3 separate regions of the Homo sapiens genome follow, and regions 1 and 3 are each linked to region 2. The links are contacts of gene promoters, found by promoter capture Hi-C in blood cells and fetal thymus (Javierre and others, 2016). All regions are on one chromosome and are shown on one strand. The core of a region is centred on a gene start or on the middle of the fragment in contact, and the rest is flanking DNA. Distances in the headings are between cores, read along the strand shown. Region 1 has its middle 110 kb from the start of FAM9C. Region 2 holds the start of FAM9C (family with sequence similarity 9 member C). Region 3 has its middle 5.1 kb from the start of TMSB4X.

Evidence for each region. The method cuts DNA at HindIII sites, captures the fragments that hold promoters and counts their contacts. A CHiCAGO score of 5 or more calls a contact.
Region 1: a fragment that was not itself captured here is called in contact with the fragment with the promoter of FAM9C in region 2 in 3 of 17 cell types (activated CD4 T cells, non-activated CD4 T cells and naive CD4 T cells); the score reaches 7.0 in activated CD4 T cells.
Region 3: a contact is called between a fragment that was not itself captured here and the fragment with the promoter of FAM9C in region 2, in 7 of 17 cell types (naive CD4 T cells, non-activated CD4 T cells, activated CD4 T cells and 4 more). The highest score is 14.3, in naive CD4 T cells.

The regions. Positions count from the first base shown.
Region 1 is chrX:13,151,681-13,154,454 of GRCh38, forward strand. No RefSeq gene overlaps it. Among named protein-coding and RNA genes, the nearest start is that of FAM9C, 110 kb to the left of the region's middle. RefSeq lists an enhancer at 706-1,305. The HindIII fragment of the contact is 1,970 bases long and covers 474-2,443 here.
Region 2 is chrX:13,043,241-13,045,940 of GRCh38, forward strand. It overlaps FAM9C (family with sequence similarity 9 member C), which reads right to left and starts at 1,380. Exons shown (of 8, transcript NM_174901.6): 1 at 1,300-1,380; 2 at 489-617; 3 at 1-8. The coding sequence starts at 549. LOC105373133 (a long non-coding RNA gene) reads left to right here and starts at 1,493. Exons shown (of 4, transcript NR_171577.1): 1 at 1,493-1,609. The HindIII fragment of the contact is 8,868 bases long and covers 118-2,700 here.
Region 3 is chrX:12,968,640-12,971,339 of GRCh38, forward strand. No RefSeq gene overlaps it. Among named protein-coding and RNA genes, the nearest start is that of TMSB4X, 5.1 kb to the right of the region's middle. The HindIII fragment of the contact is 1,164 bases long and covers 809-1,972 here.

The DNA.
Region 1 (2,774 bases), core at 209-2,708, 110 kb after region 2:
TTCAGTTTTTTAGGAAGGAGAAAAAGATTATTATTAGTGTGAAAAAGCACCAGATATTAGATAGCGGCTCAGAAAATATGTTCTGAGGATAGTTTTCCTGACTGAGAAAATGAATTTCCATTTAACATGACTGTTAACTGAAGAATTCCAGTCTTAGGCTCATATACCCAGCTGTGGTAAATAAAAATTTCCCTAGTTTTGGGGTGTGTAAAGAAAACACGGCTTGTCTCCAGTGGCTACCAAAAGGAAACAAACACAAAAAGAAATGGAAGCTGTGAAATGCTAACATCTCTTCAGAGACTTGGAGCCATTTCCAGAACCCTGGGCTTCTCTTTGTAGTCTGGTTGCTATGGCTCTGTCTTCGTTACTGCAAAATACTGTCTGATATACTCTGGTAAGTGGTTACATGAAAGAGTCGATAACCACAGAGGTGCTGGCAGATCCCTATCTTTCAAGCTCTCCTCTCAGCCTGAAGCTTTCTGACGAAGTCTTTCCTCCCAGCTTCTCATTGCTTCTGGAGCTGCCAGTAATTAAAGAGACACAGGAAGAAATAAAAGAAAATGCCACTCACAAGGAATCAAAGAAAACAACACTCAGAACACATCAGCCAGTTCTCTGCTGAAGCTCTCAGGGGCTCTGTGTGGCAGGAATACCAAGCTGAAGGTGGGCTGAATTTTGATTTAAAAGGAGAAGGGTAGACCTTGCAAATATTCTGCCTGGATAGTACACATTGTGGGTTAAGATGTGTCAGTGAGAGTCTCCAGTCTTCAGATGCAAGTTGAGCTCGTTATGATCGACGTGAATCTGCATGTTAAAAGGAGACTCGTTGCTGTGGGCAGTAATGCAGGGAGCTTCTTGAAATTGCCTTTGCGAGAAAAGTTGTAACGGTGAGCTGAGCTAACCCACCCCACAGTTTGCCTTTCCTTTAATTATTCCTGGGCTTTTGGGCCAAGCTGATTTTGAGAGACATTTAGGCTGCAGTTTAAATGATAAAAAGCCTCCCGTAAAACTCAATCGCTTTTGTAACGCTAATGGAAGGCCATCAGGCTGCGGGGAGGAGAGCAGCCTGGGTTCTGCTAAGATGCAAACATGAACAATTGCCAGCCATTATTCCAGAGGTTATAAGATATGCAATTTCCCCAATTACTCCTACAAATAACATCACTATTGTAGAACTTAAGATTGGCCTTTTGAGATATCTTTTCAGGCTTTTTGTATGTCTGACACCCATGGCTCCACCTGGACCCTCCAACTCTGCTCCTGTGGTCCCACCCAGAAGCAATTCAGCACACAGGAGAACAGGTGCAACTGGCTATGATTTCATCTCTGCACCAACCAACCAGCTGCAAGCCTAGCCACCCCCACCCCTTCCCCCAAAGATGCCTTTGAGAAACGCCTAACTTGTGAGCTTTGGAGAATGATTTGAGTACTAACTCCATCTCCCATGTGGTGTGGCCAGCCTGTCTATTAAACTCTTCCTTTGCTACAATACCATGGTCTTTCTTTGTGTAGGGGGCAGGAAAGAACCCCTTGGGCCATTACATTCTAAGAAAACATTAAGAGTATCATGGCTAACCACTTTCTTCTCTCTGCAGCCCCTCCTCATCTATGAATGGATCTGTGACCATTTCTGCTTTGGCCTCCTTCTGAAACCACCTTTGCAAACATCATGACAGTGACAGAAGTCTAGCATGGCTGGCTCCATCTTGCTTCTAGCCTCACAATCTGGCTATTCTTGCTCATTCCTGGGCATAGGCCAAGCTAACCGTGGGAGGAATTTAGTTTACAGTTTAACATTGAAGCAAGGATGATAATAGTTCCTCCCAGAACCCCTCCTTGTTCAGGGACTAAAACTACCTTTGTAAAACTAATGAAGGGCCACAAGATTAGGATTATGGGAGGGGCCTGAATTCTGCTGAGATGTAGGTGTAAACGATAACCAGCCATTGTTCCCTAACTTGCTTTCTATTTTATTTTTATTTTTTAAAGAGACAGGGTCTCACTATATTGCTCAGGCTGGCCTTGAACTGCTGAGTTCAAGAGATCCTCCCACCTCAGCCTCCCAAAGTGTTGGAATTACAGATGTAAGCCACCATGCCCAGCCTCCTAGCTTGCTTCTGTAATCCCTTACTACTCAGGAGTCATGTGGCAGAAATTATAAGATTTGTGACTTCCCCAATTGCTCCCGTAGATAACATCACTAGTGTAAAACCTAAGATTGGTCTTTTGAGATGGTTTTCAGATTTTTGCATTATGGCAACCAACTGACTCTACCCCGACCCATGACTCATGACTCAACTAATCCCGTGGCCCCCACCCAGAGGCTGAGTCAGTGCACAAGGATTGTTTTCCACAACCCTACAATTTCATTCCTAACCAATCAGCACACCCAATCCCTAGCCCCCTGCCTGCCAAAATATCCTTGAAAAAACCCTACCCTCCAAGCTTTTGGGGAAGCTGATTTGAGTACTAAACTCTTGTTCTTCCACTTAGCTGGCCCTGTGATTATTAAACTCTTTCTCTACTGCAGTACCACTATCTCAGTGAATTGGTTTTATCTGCGCAGCGGGCCAGAAGAACCCATCAGGTGATTGTACTTCCCTTCCTTCCCAGTGGAAAAGGGGTTCCTCATCCAGTCCAGGGGCCCCCAAGAAGCTTCCCTCTTTTTGTAAATCAGCTTTATTGTAGTATAATTTATGTACAGTAAATGGTATCCATTTAAAGTATACAATTTGTTGAGTTTTGACACCCATGAAACCGCTGCCATAATCAAG
Region 2 (2,700 bases), core at 130-2,629:
ATCCTTTCCTGCATTAAAATAAAAAAGACAAACCTTTTTTAGAGGAAGACGCTGTTGTGGACATTTTTCATAGAGAAACGTACTATTTGTAGACTTTTTTGGCTCTCCGCCAATTAAAGCTTTACCGCAGAGCTATACATGGAATCGCCGGCTCCTAACCATTTTACGGAGGCATTTTTGGAAGCCCTTCGGGTTCAAGTCCCAGTAAACAACGTTCACAGGTCAGATCCCTTGGATGTCAGGACCGCATCCATGGAGAAGAGCTGCTCTGAGAGCATCTGTAACCCTGCTATGAGGGGGAGCCTCCCACGGGAAGCCTAAGGCCCTTGAGCCTGCTTTGAAAACCTGGGGCATCTCAGCACATGCACGGTGAGCTCCAAAGCCACGAAGGGGCCGGGGGCCTCGGGCTGCCCATGTGCGCCCCGCCCAGAAAGCAGACAGACTGTTGGGCGTGCACCTTCTTCTAGGTCCCCTTGGGCTGTGTTTACCTGCAAGCTCCATTTCCTGGGCGGCCATAACTTGAACCTCCAACTGGTCCTTGGCAGCCATCCTGCTGCCCTTCCTGCCCACGGGCTCCGTGGCTGACTGGCCTGGGAAGCTAGAGGCGACCTCTGAACCTGGTGAGTGCAAAGACACACTAAGGACACTAAGGAAACGAGGCGTGTTAAATGAAAATCATCAGGATCGCAGGTTCAAGGGCGCCCCGGGTCTCCCGTGGGAGCAGGAGGGGACGCGGAGAAGATGCCATCATCCCCTCCTGTCCTGGCCCGTCCAGCGCTTCCCCGGGGCTGGCTGCAGAGCTCGCAGAATTCCGCGGCCTCTGCGGGATTCTTGCAGTGCCCTTGGGACAGAGCCTGGCCCTGCCCCTGGGTTCCCCAGCGACCCAGTGGAGTCGGGAGGGCCGCGGGGTGACACAGGATCTCCCCAGCCATCTCCATGGGAATGAGCCGGTACGCACCTGTTTCTGACAGGGGCAGGGACTGCCCATTCGCCAGCCTGGACGCCCAGGGGACCCCTGGTGACCCCAAGTATCCCGTCCTGATGGGCAGCCAGACAAGACGGACCCACGTTGACCCCCCGACCCCCCCCCAAACGCTGCACACATGCACAGGCCTCCGGGACCCTCCTGGGTCCTGGGGACCACTCAGGCAGCTCCAACTCCCTGCCCTGACCCAGGCCCCAGGCGACAATGCCTGGGCCATTTCCTCACAGATCAGCCTGGCTGCCCCGCCCTTCACACCCTCTTCCCCAAAGGGCCTCTGGCCCGCCTTCCCCGCATCCCCACCGAGGGCGTCTCACCTGAGGGAGCCCTGATGTTGCTCCCTCAGAGGACCTGCAGAGGCTGGCACCGCGAAGCTCCTCCGAGGGCCTGGGTCCTCTGTTCTCACGAGAGCAGCAGCCGCCCCGGCTGCCCGCGCTCCTCGCTGATTGGTCGGCCCAGTGCGCATGCAGGTGGCGGGCGGCATGGGGCCACGCCCCCTGCAGGCACACCCTCCCCCTCACGGACTGTCCATGGCTGCTGTGGACTCATTGGGTGGCTCTCTGAGGCCTCTGTCCCCACGATATTCCAGCTCCTCATCCTGGTGAAGGAAGCAAGGACTCGGGAGTGGTGAGTGCCAGGGGACCCTGCCCTAAGGAATGGAGGCCAAGTGAACGGGGCCTAGGACCTTGCCCCCAGGCTCGTTCCAGCCACTCCTGCCCCTTTGGGTGGAATGGCCATCACCCTGCGGGTGGAGCCCAGGCTCCCTCCCATGTCCTGTGTGCTTCCAACACGCCCAGCTGCATCCTTTTTATCAATGGATTGTGCTTTTATGTTTTATCTAAGAAAATTGTTGACTCCCAGCAGGGGCAGGTAGTTTTCTCCTATCCTACTCCATTCCCTCACACTGGGCATTGCATGATTCTGCAGTGGATATACAAAGTTAAAGACTTTATGTCTAGATTTCTCATGATGTGGTCATTTCTTTTCTTTCATTTTTCTTTTTTCTTTTTTTTTTTTTTTTTGACAGGGTCTTGCTCTGTCACCCAGGCTGGGCTGCAATGGTGTAATCACTACTCACTGTAGCCTCAACTGCCCGCGCTCAAGGGATCCTCCCACCACAGCCTCCCAAGTAGCTGGGACTACAGGCATGTCCCACCATGCCCAGCTAATTTTATTTTATTTATTTATTTATTTTTAGAGACAGAGTCTTACTCTGTCCCCAGGCTGGAGTGCAGTGGCACGATCTCGGCTTCCTGCAACCTCTGCCTCCCTGGTTCAAGCAATTCTCCTGCCTCAGCCTCCCAAGTAGCTGGGACTATAGGCGCACGCCGCCACGCCTGGCTGATTTTTTTTTTTTTTTTTTTGTATTTTAGTAGAGACAGGGTTTCACCGTGTTGCCCAGGCTGGTCTCGAACTCCTGAGCTCAGTCAGTCTGCCCGCCTCAGCCTCCCAAAGTGCTAGGATTACAGGCATGAACCACCGCTCCTGGCCAATTTTGTTTATTTTTTGCAGAGATGAGGTCTCACTATGTTGCCCAGGCTGGTCTGCAACTCCTGGGCTCAAGCGATCCGCCCGCCTCAGCCTCCTAAAGTGCTGGGGTTACAGGCTTGAGCCATCGTGCCCAGCCCGATTATTTCCACAGCTGGGTTGGAAGCCATCTTTCCCTGACAAGGCAGCTCACCTTTATATCTAAGAGTTCTCTATAACCTAAAGAGAAT
Region 3 (2,700 bases), core at 141-2,640, 75 kb before region 2:
CCGGCCCTGGGTCAACAAGAATGTCCCTCAACTGGAAAGAAAATAGAGGGATGAAGAATTCCAATTCTGGCACTGGTGCCACCAGCTCTACTGGTGCCAGCAGTCTGAGAACCTTGGTCTGGTATCCGCACCTCCTCCCAGGTGCTCTGGGAATGGGTAAGGGAACTAAGATGCTGTGGCCCTTAAGCTCTGCCGGTCAAATCAACCTATGATGAAGCTCTATAGCATTGTTAAGAAGCCCATTGTTTTGTACTTTAAAATTTGTTTTCCTCTAGTTTCCTAATAAAAAGTTTTTTTTTTTTTCCTAAATTGGCACCACTTTCTCAGCTCAAGAAGAACAGGGAGTTTCCACACCTGAGAAGTGTTAATGGGCATGACCTGAGAGGGCATTATAGGCAGAGGAAGAGGCACGTGTGTAAGGGCCCATTCCTGGGTCCAGGAAAAGACAGTAGCACTGGAGGCACTCAAAGAATGAGAATCTAAAAAGGGCAGGACTGGCTTCAGAATTTGGGGGACACAGTACAAAATAGAAATGTGGGGTAAGAATTTCAAAATGGCGGCAGCAGTACATTAAGCCAAGCACCAGGGACTTCTGAGCGTAAGGCCCAGTGCAGCTGCACAGCTGTGCACCTGTGAAGCCAGTCCTGGAGAGGCCAAATCGTCAGGGTCAGCCAAGGAAGTTGATCTTGGCCTATGTGGGTTTTCCCCTCAGATTTGAGCCAGTGCTCCATTACCTACACTCCATTTTCCTCACCATAAAGCTATTAACCATCTTCTGCTGATGATCTGGGAACTATATTTTATATAAAGCTTTGGCACCCACAGAAAAAACACATTAAAAAATACAAACACTTGTTACTTGCTAAGCATAATTCTGCTTCACAATGGAATCAAAGGTTTGTCATTTTTAACACAGAAAGCCATTGGGAGTGTGTAATGCCTCCCCTTTCAATATGCTATTGAACCTACTAATTTTTTTAGCCATTGTAATATGAATGACTTCTTAGAAAAATATTGTAGTAAGGCCAGGCTCACGCCTGTAATCCCAGCACTTTGGGAGGCCGAGGCGGGTAGATCACGAGGTCAGGAGATCAAGACCATTCTGGCCAACACGGTGAAACCCTGTCTCTACTAAAATACAAAAAATTAGCTGGGAGTGGTGGTGTGCACCTGTAACCCCAGCTACTCAGGAGGCTGAGGCAGGGGAATCGCTTGAACCTGGGAGGCGGGGGTTGCAGTAAGCCGAGATTGCACCACTGCACTCCAGCCTGGTGACAGAGCAAGACTCCGACTCAAAAAAAAAAAAAAAGAAAAGAAAAAGAAAAAGAAAAATATTTAAGTAGTGAAAAGCTGAGGAAAACTACTAACGTTCAGGATACAAATTCTCTTTATTGCCAGTGCCTTGGCCATGCAGGAGGAGGAAAAAGAGCAGATTGAATTTCTGTAATGAAATAATTTGAAAATTGGGGCAGGGAAAATTTTAATGTATATGACATTATTACGATATCTATGTTTAAATGTCTTCATGATGTAGGCTGGGTGCGGTGGCTCACGCCTGTAATCCCAGCACTTTGGGAGGCCGAGGTGGAAGGATTGCTTGAGCCCAGGAACTTGAGACCAGCCTGGGCAACATAGAGAGAACCTGTTTCTTAAAAAAAAAAAAGAAAAAAAGAGAAAAAACATCTACATGATGAAAAAGCTAGACAGCTGATTGAGACAGAATATAACTTTACCCTTATCTGGCGTATGGAACAAAGCCTTTAAAAGGCCTTAGGATTCTAGAGAAGAGTAGTGTTTAAATGAGGCGGCTTCTGAGCCAGCCAGTCTGAGTTCAAATCCTGCCTTTGGCTTTCGTTGTGTTTTCTTGGGGAAGTTATTTAATCCCTCTAGAATTCTCTCATCTGCAAAATGAGGAGAATAATGGTGCCACTGTCATAGGATTGTGTGAGGATTCGGGAAATACTACATGGAAAGCTTCCCAGTATATGGAAAGCACTCAGAAAGCACTTGCTGTTATTACTGCTATGGGTACAGCCATGATTGTTACTATCATTATTCTACAACCTGGCCCCTGCCTGGTTCCCAGCGTTATTTCCTGTCACTTTCTCTCATTTTACGCAAGTGCCTGCCAAGCTAAGCTACTCATTGCCCCCTGCGTTAACTCGAAGATTCTCTGCTTCCGTATTGTTCCCTGGCTGTGTGGAGGCTGAGTAACCACTTGGAGGGGATGTTGTAGAGGAAAATTCAAGCCACAGAAGGGAAACTGGGTTGAATGAGATCCCCTTTTACATTTCTTTTGGCTCTAAAGTTTCCATCGGATCAATAAAGCAAACAGGACAATTAGCAGCACGGCACTCAGCACTGAGCACAGGCGAGGGTGTTCTTTCACTCCTCTTTGCTTTCCTGCCACCCCCTGCTCGCCTTCCTCTTTGCACCATGTGGGTCCGCTCTGGGTGGGAGTCCTGGAGAAAGATACTTCAACTAAAGATAAGGCAGAGATAGGCCTCGGTGGAAAGACTTGGTAGACAGACCTGGGCATTTGATTAAGAGCAAATTGCTTAAATTCTCGGAGCCTCAATTTCTTTAGTAGTAAAATGGGGATATTAGTACTCACTCCATAGGGTAAGAATGGAATCAGATATTGTTTAAAAGGGCTTATAGCTGAGGTTACAAGATATAGCTAGTCTACTAAATATCCTT